Regions from separate parts of the Homo sapiens genome. Here region 2 is linked to region 1. The links are contacts of gene promoters, found by promoter capture Hi-C in blood cells and fetal thymus (Javierre and others, 2016). All regions are on one chromosome and are shown on one strand. Each heading gives the region's core, a stretch centred on a gene start or on the middle of the fragment in contact. The rest is flanking DNA. Distances are from core to core; before and after follow the strand shown.

Evidence for each region. The method cuts DNA at HindIII sites, captures the fragments that hold promoters and counts their contacts. A CHiCAGO score of 5 or more calls a contact.
Region 2: a contact is called between a fragment that was not itself captured here and the fragment with the promoter of TFB2M in region 1, in 1 of 17 cell types (fetal thymus). The highest score is 5.5, in fetal thymus.

The regions. Positions count from the first base shown.
Region 1 is chr1:246,563,674-246,567,744 of GRCh38, reverse strand. TFB2M (transcription factor B2, mitochondrial) reads left to right here and starts at 1,484. Exons shown (of 8, transcript NM_022366.3): 1 at 1,484-1,919; 2 at 3,311-3,399. The coding sequence starts at 1,607. It overlaps CNST (consortin, connexin sorting protein), which reads right to left and starts at 1,289. Exons shown (of 11, transcript NM_152609.3): 1 at 1,082-1,289. RefSeq lists enhancers at 685-1,184, 1,225-1,284, 1,515-1,794. The HindIII fragment of the contact is 6,532 bases long and covers 553-4,071 here.
Region 2 is chr1:244,857,938-244,862,175 of GRCh38, reverse strand. HNRNPU (heterogeneous nuclear ribonucleoprotein U) reads left to right here. Exons shown (of 14, transcript NM_031844.3): 4 at 1,702-1,841; 5 at 2,802-2,901; 6 at 3,335-3,447; 7 at 3,902-4,165. Among named protein-coding and RNA genes, the nearest start is that of HNRNPU, 4.5 kb to the left of the region's middle. The HindIII fragment of the contact is 591 bases long and covers 2,319-2,909 here.

The DNA of each region.
Region 1 (4,071 bases), core at 235-2,734:
CAATGAGTGAGTCCCCACAGTTTGCACAACAGTTGATGAGATATTTTCTATGATGTCCTAACAAATTTATAATACACAAAAGGTCATATTTAGTTGTCAATTCTTTATCCGCTTGAGCTTCATCAGATGAGTATAATCTTCAGACTATTTGCTGGGTGATACATTCCTTAGGAACCTTTTCCTCGTGCATTTAAATGCCAAACTCAATTACACTCTCAGTAGAGTAAGCAGAAAGGATTGTACGTATTCTAAGACACGGAGTTGATTGGCTGCCGTTTCTTGCCTTGGTGGTAAGGATAATGGGTAAAAGCTCTAAGTTTGATCCTGAAACACGGAAAACACTCTCAAAGAACCGTGTCTTCTAACATTGCCCAATAGGTAAAAAAAAAAAGACTGCCAAAATTTCCATTACAGCATCCTATTTTTAGTCTTCAAAATTGGGTCTTTTAAATCGCATTCCACAGTACGATGTGTTTGACTAAGTTTACATAAGGAATACAGTAAGCATCCTAAAGTCTTAATCTTTTTAAGCTTAGAAAGGAATTGTAAGCTTTTACATCTTCATTTTTAATCTTAACTTTAAGTCTTTTAAACACACAAACTGAAAAAATTAAGGAAAATATTGGCCCAGAGAGAGGAATGGAAGGGAGACACCACGCGGTTCTTGACAACCAAAGTGGTAGTGATGGGGGGGACCAGGTGTGGGGGGGAAATGAAAACCATCCACGAGGGTGGGGAGAGCGGGCTGTGGGCCACACAACAGAAAGGAACGGAGACCGTGGAAGCCGCAGGCTCCTCCAGGAGCCGGGTGAGGAACGACTTCTGGCGCTAGTCCCCTAGGGAGGGAGAAATTGGCGCGACGCGCAGCAATAGGAGACCCACAGTAGCTGAGAAAGGAGAGGAAAACAGGCGACCTGAGAGGCGGAGGAGGTAAGGGGACCGGGCTACACCTCACCCGGAGGGCAGAGGCTGCGCGGCTGGAGGAGGACAGCGCAGGGGGAGGAGCGAGAGGCTTCCGAAAGGCTTTCCATCCCGGCCGCGAGCCGGCGGGTCCCCTGCATCCCGCTCCTCCTCTCCTCACCTGGGAATCGGAGGCGCAAGGAGGGCTACCGCTGGGCGCCGGGTCTGTTTCCAGCCCCACTCGGCGACATGGCGGCCGACGTGCTGTCACGGAGCTTGCTCGGGTCTCCCCTGGCTCCGGTGGAGGAGACACCTCTCGCCTTTCCGCCCCGCCTCCCTCTGCGCACCCCTCGCGGCTGGCCGGCTGGAGGCTGGCGGCCCGCGACCGCGGAGCATAGAGCACTGGCGGCTAGAGAGGAAGCGCAGAGCGCGGACAACCATAGAGTACGAGTCCGGACACCAGCCGGATGGTCGGTCGCTCTCCTCAACGGTCCACTCACAATCCTCGGGCGGCTGAGCCGAGGCGGAAGCGGAAGTGAGGGAGAAAAGCAGGAAGGCTCCGCTGTTCGCATGCGCAGGCTCTAGTGTTTACTTCCGCTTGACCTGGCCCGGACGCCAGAAAATGTTCCACGTGGGATACCCTGCGTGGGGTTCACTGTAGTAGCTGCACTAGGTGATTCTTGGAGCGGGCCTGAGAGACAAGGACATGTGGATCCCAGTGGTCGGGCTTCCTCGGCGGCTGAGGCTCTCCGCCTTGGCGGGCGCTGGTCGCTTTTGCATTTTAGGGTCTGAAGCGGCGACGCGAAAGCATTTGCCGGCGAGGAACCACTGTGGGCTCTCTGACTCCTCTCCGCAGCTGTGGCCCGAACCGGATTTCAGGAATCCGCCAAGGAAGGCGTCTAAGGCCAGCTTAGACTTTAAGCGTTACGTAACCGATCGGAGATTGGCTGAGACCCTGGCGCAAATCTATTTGGGAAAACCAAGTAGACCTCCACACCTACTGCTGGAGTGCAATCCAGGTGAGTCCAGCTGAATTGCATTTTCTTGGATGTTCATCATTTATTCAAACGTATTGACCCTCCTCGGGGTGCTATTTTAGATACTGGGGGGTCTTTTTTGTTGTTCTTTTGCTTTGAGACGGAGTCTCGCTGTGTTGCCAGGCTGGAGTGCAGTGGGGCGATCTCGGCTCCCTGCAACCTCCGCGTACCGGGTTCAGGCGATTCTCCTGCCTCAGCCTCCCGAGTAGCAAGAACTACAGGCGCGCGCCACCACGCCCAGCTAATTTTCTTATTTTTACTAGAGACGGGATTTCGCCGTGTTGGCCAGGATGGTCTCGATCTCTTGACCTCGTGATCCTCCCCCCTAGGTCTCCCAAAATGCTGGGATTAGAGGCGTGAGCCACTGCGCCCGTCCAGATACGGGTCTTTGTTTGAAGCTCCTTAGTTGGAGAGATTGCCCACTACATAAGCGTAGAGTCTGTATCGTTAATGACACCACAAAGTATTTCTGTAGCAGCTTGCACTTTACACAATATTTTGATAAAACATGCTCTTAGATCTTATCTCCCCAAAAGAGTTGCAAGCCTCTGCCAGCTGAAAAAATGATGTTATCTTATTCTTCCGTGCATTCCCTATAGACCATAGCAGGATGCTAAGAACACAAGATTTATAGGCTTTTTGAATGATAGTTTTTTAAAGCACCATTTCATATCACAGGGAGTCAGTTCTGTTTAGGCTTGACAATCTCTTTGATGGTTAAAGCATCCGTGTAGTCCGTGAGGAAGTGATAGGCTAGAGGCAATCTATTTTGCTGTGACTTTTTTCTTCTAAGAGGTAGTGAATCATGGTGATGAAGAGTGCAAGTTTTGACCTGGTGCGGTGGCTCACGCCTGTAATCCAGCACTTTCAGAGGCCGAGGCGAGTGGTTCCCTTGAGGTCAGGAGTTCCAGACCAGCCTGGCCAACATGGTGAAACTCCGTCTCTGCTTAAAATACAAAAATTAGCCGGGCGTGGTGGCGGGCGCCTGTAATCCCAGCTACTCGGGAGGCTGAGGCAGGAGAATCGCTTGAACCCAAGAGGCAGAGGTTGCAGTGAGCCGAGATTGCCCCACTGCACTCCAGCCTGGGTGACAGAGTGAGACTTCGTCTCAAAAAAAAAAAAAAAAGAGTGCAGGTTTTGCAGTCGCTGACAATGATTTCAAAGCCAAGCTGCATCACTTTTGACGCTGGAGTCAAATAAGTATATATAATCTCCTGTTTCCTTATATGTAAAAAGGAGAGTGACATCTACTTTGCGGATGCTGTCAGATTTAAAAACCAGGTAATAACGTGTGAAACATCTAATGAAAGTTTGGTATTGAAAGAGATTATGTTTCTTGTACAAATAAACTTTTCGTTCTGTTAATGTGCCAGGTCCTGGAATCCTGACTCAGGCATTACTTGAAGCTGGTGCCAAAGTGGTTGCGCTCGAAAGTGACAAAACTTTTATTCCACATTTGGAGGTATATTTTTAGTTTCTCAACGTATGTTATTGTTTGTTCAACTATCTGTGAGTGGTTTAAGGAAATGGAATTAAGCACACAGTGTTTTACATAGAATATCTTTTAGGGAGCCATCTCTGAAATATCTTGTTTATTCCCAAAGACTAGAACACAGTTAATATTCAGTGCTGTTGAATGGCTGAAACATGAGGAGTTCTAAGACTTGTTTGCTAGTTCTAGGTCGGCTACAGCCTAGTTGGGTGACTTTGAACAAAGCGTATAACTGGCATCCCTAGGCTTGTTTCCCCATTTCTACTAAGCTGCGCTGTGCTCCTTTCTTCTGTGAGCTTGGAATCTAATTGGAATAAGTGCTAATATTAGGTTAATGGATCTGTGTAACCTCTATATTTAGGGTTTGAAAGGCAAGAAAGGTTGGCATACAAATTAAGTATTTTATCTGAAATGCTTGGGAACACAACTGTTTTGGATTTCAAATTTTTTCATATTTTGCAATATTTGCATATACATAATGAGATATCTTGGGGATGGGACCCGAGTCTAAAAATTCCTTTTTTGTTCCATATACATCTTATTCATAAGGCCTAAAGGCAATTCTGTATAATATTTTAAATAATTTTGTGCATTAAACAAAATTTGTGTACATTGGACCATCAGAAAGCAAAGGTGTCACTA
Region 2 (4,238 bases), core at 1,365-3,864, 1.7 Mb after region 1:
AAACTTGTAACACTACCTATAATTTAGCCTTACAGGCTTCTACAATAAAGTAATTCATTTTTTTGTGGAATTATATTAAGTGAGCTATTTGGGCTAGTTAAATATTTACTAATGACTTCTCCCATTAGCACACAAGTATATTCCCTATTTTAAAAGATTGTAATATTACTTTTTCAATAACTGCTCTTTTGTTCTCAATTCCAGTTCAGTAGCTGCTGCTTTAAACATAAGTTGATTTCTTCCAAAGACCTGAGGCAGCAGCAGTGGGCTATCACTGGGCCACTAGCTTTCTTCAGCAGCGAATGGTATCAATGGCAGTGCAGCACTGTAAATACTGCTACTTTACCCAGTTGGGTTGCAATTGAGTGAGAAAGTATTGCAAACCTCTAAGTGGGCTTTGACTGTCAGACTTGTTTTTTTTTTTTTTTTTTTTGTTACAAAAAAACGTAGTTGGTTTAGTGATGAGAATGTACAACTCTGGGTGTGATAAATAGACCAAAGGATAAAAATAACTGTTTCAAAAGTATCAGCTATGGTGTCAGCCTGCTGTGTTAGATGGAAGGCATTGGAGCTTAGCTTCTCATGTTTTCTTGTACAAATTGGCTTTATTCAGATTTGTAAGAGTGTCAATGTAAAACTCTTTCTTACTGGAATATCCTTTACAGAAGGTTGAGATAGTCATCTGAGCCTTTTTAAAAGAAAAAACTGCAGGTGAAAAAGGAGTTAGTTGATGTGAAAGTTTTAGTGAAATTCTGGGTTGTATAAATAAGTTGCTAGGAATTGGCAAGGTAGTGAAGTGGTGACTCACACAGGTAATGTAATTGTTAGATTTTTTAGCAAATCAGGAATATGTCAATATAAGTACAATGTTGAATTCAAACAATCTGTTGAATTAAATTCTGTTGATTAGAATAACTCTAATTTAAGAAAAATTCCAAACTGTAGATTTATTTTTCTCTGATCAGTAAAAAGAAAATGAGTTCCAGCTTGACTTTAGCTGTTCAAGTGAGAAGTCTGAGGAAGTGCATGTTAATGAGCCAGTGACCCATAGGTAGCTGGGTTAAAGACACTTTGGATTTGGATAATCCGGGAAGCAATTAATCCCTAATTGTTGAACAGGCAGTCCTGGGTAAAGAGGACCTAAAATGCTGCACTATTAACAGCATTAGACGGCCAGGTTTGTACTTCATAGTTTTAGGCTGTCTTCTTCACAAGTTTTAGAAAAAGAATTTAGGAGCTAGAGCCCTGGTGCAGGATCAACAGCAGCTCATACTCCTATTTTAAAATAATTTGGTCGTGGCCTCCCTTCAGTTTTAATGTGGCACTGGTAAATCTACCTGGTTCTGGCATGCTTCACTTTGATTTCCTGCTATCCTCTACTGCTTGCCTCTAAATCAAGGTAAAGAGCAGAGCAGGTATGTATTAATGTCACATTGTCTTGATTATTTTAAATACTTAAAATATACATGTTAAACCTTGGTATTAGTTTCACAGGCAGTTTACTTTTCAGTACATAATTTAACAGGAGTGACTTGGTGGGAGTGGGGCTTTAAACTGAAAATTGGAACAACAGCATGATGTGGAGAAAAGTTGTGCAGCATTAAGAAGTACATGCAAAAATTAAGTAACCAAGTTTTGTCTACATAGCAGATATGTTTACATTGGATGTCAAAAGTAACACAGTATTTGATATAATTACAGATAATTGTGATCTACATTTTAAAATATCAAGAGATCGTCTCAGTGCTTCTTCCCTTACAATGGAGAGTTTTGCTTTTCTTTGGGCTGGAGGAAGAGCATCCTATGGTGTGTCAAAAGGCAAAGTGTGTTTTGAGATGAAGGTAAATGCAATTTTATGATTTGTTTGTTTGTTTGTGGAGACAGTCTCACTCTGTTCCCTAGGCTGGATTGCCGTGGTGCGACCTAGGCTCACTGCAACCTCCGCGTCCTGGGTTCAAGCGATTCTCCTTGCTTCAGTCTCTCAAGTAGCTCGGACTAGAGGCACACACTACCACACCTGGCTAATTTTTGTATTTTTAATAGAGATGGGGTTTCACCACGTAGGCCAGGCTGGTCGCCAACTCTTGACCTCAGGTGATCCACTGTCTCGGCGTCCCAAAGTGCTGGGATTACAGGCATGAGCCACTGTGCCCAGCCTTTTTTTTTCCTTTTTAAAATAGTGACAAGGTCTCACCATGTTGCCCAGGCTGGTCTTGAACTCCTAAGCTCAAGTGATCTGCCCGCCTGAGCCTCTCAGAATGCTGGAATTACAGGTGCTTCATACTGCTAAGTTATCAAAGGTACTTATTTTTGAAGCTTCCTGTAAATTAAAAGAGGAGCTTGGAACCTTCATTTTGTTGTGACAGTTAATCACGGTTGTTATGTTAGAACTTGCCATGCAGAGCTAGGCGATTTTTTATTTAGGGTACTTCATTTTTATCAAGCATTTGAAAGGGCCACCAAAGAGTTAAAAATAAAATTTGGTTACATTACTGCTTTTGTTGGTGAGAAAAACATTAATTGTATCCTTTAATTGGCTTTAAGTTAAAGACTGACAACATGAACTTTAAAAATATTAAGTATTCTTTTAAATATGGGTCAAATAAGTATTTAACTCTTTAAATTTCAAGTTATAAGCACATCAGTTTAAAGTTCTTACAAATATTGGGGGTGGGCTAGAGTGTGCCTTCTTTGTATTTATAGCTAGAGGAAGATTAGCCCGTGGCGCAATGAAATATGCGAGAGTTAAGGGGTTACCTCCTTGGTGTATTATTTTAATTATTTAATGATTTGACTTTCAGGTTACAGAGAAGATCCCAGTAAGGCATTTATATACAAAAGATATTGACATACATGAAGTTCGTATTGGCTGGTCACTAACTACAAGTGGAATGTTACTTGGTAAAGCTTCTTTTTGACTGATGTGGGCTCATGAATGTTCAGGAGGGTCTGATTTCAGTGTTTTTTAACTAGAGGGCATTCTAAGCCTTTTGTCTGTTTTTATCTATTCTGTTAATACTTCAGACAGGTAATATTAGCACATAGTAGGCACAGGCTACATTTTAGTTTTTGTTCCTTTATTAGAAGTTTATGACCAATGGTTGAAATAAAATCTTACCCGTGATATGCAAATCGTCAACTAATTTGGTCTCTGCGTATATATCCCTCCTAACTTCCATCAATTCTGGTACAGAGATAGAAAAGTAATAGTGTCAGTGACAGGTGATTAGGTTATATGCTTATTTCTCTTGTAGCCTACATCTTAAGTAGTAAAATAGATGAGTCTTTGGACTATTTTAAACATCTACTTCATGAAGATTAATTATTTTCTTAGGTGAAGAAGAATTTTCTTATGGGTATTCTCTAAAAGGAATAAAAACATGCAACTGTGAGACTGAAGATTATGGAGAAAAGTTTGATGAAAATGATGTGATTACATGTTTTGCTGTAAGTTAAAGCTAACTTTCTATGTATAAATGGCAAAGTTAGTAGCTATATCTAGGAACTTTAAAGAAGCTTTACTGAGGTCAGTTTTCAATATGAGCAACAAAATACACCAGTCCCTGGATTAGTGTAAAGACTTCATTCAGCAGTTGAATTGGGAAAACACAGGACATTTTTGAGGAACTCACTAATTCATTTTGACTGAAAACAGTGAACATGAAATTGACCTAGAAAATTCAGTCTAGCTTCTAGGTCAGTATTGTTTCTGGTTCTGGAGATACGTGCTTCATGGTTTACAACCATCAGATTTCTTAACTGTGTAGCCCTTAAAGGCCACCTAATAGTTCTTTAACCTGTAGCTTCCACAGGATAAGCTTTGCTCCTAATTTTAATTCTTAGTTTTTTAGAAAGTTTAAGGAAGCAGATTTTAACTGTTGAATTTTTTTCTGTGTAACAGAACTTTGAAAGTGATGAAGTAGAACTCTCGTATGCTAAGAATGGACAAGATCTTGGCGTTGCCTTCAAAATCAGTAAGGAAGTTCTTGCTGGACGGCCACTGTTCCCGCATGTTCTCTGCCACAACTGTGCAGTTGAATTTAATTTTGGTCAGAAGGAAAAGCCATATTTTCCAATACCTGAAGAGTATACTTTCATCCAGAACGTCCCCTTAGAGGATCGAGTTAGAGGACCAAAGGGGCCTGAAGAGAAGAAAGATTGTGAAGTAAGGGATTTTTTTTTTTTTAACTGTGGCATTTGAATATTGCTTGCCTGGCACAAAATGACATTTAGAAGAA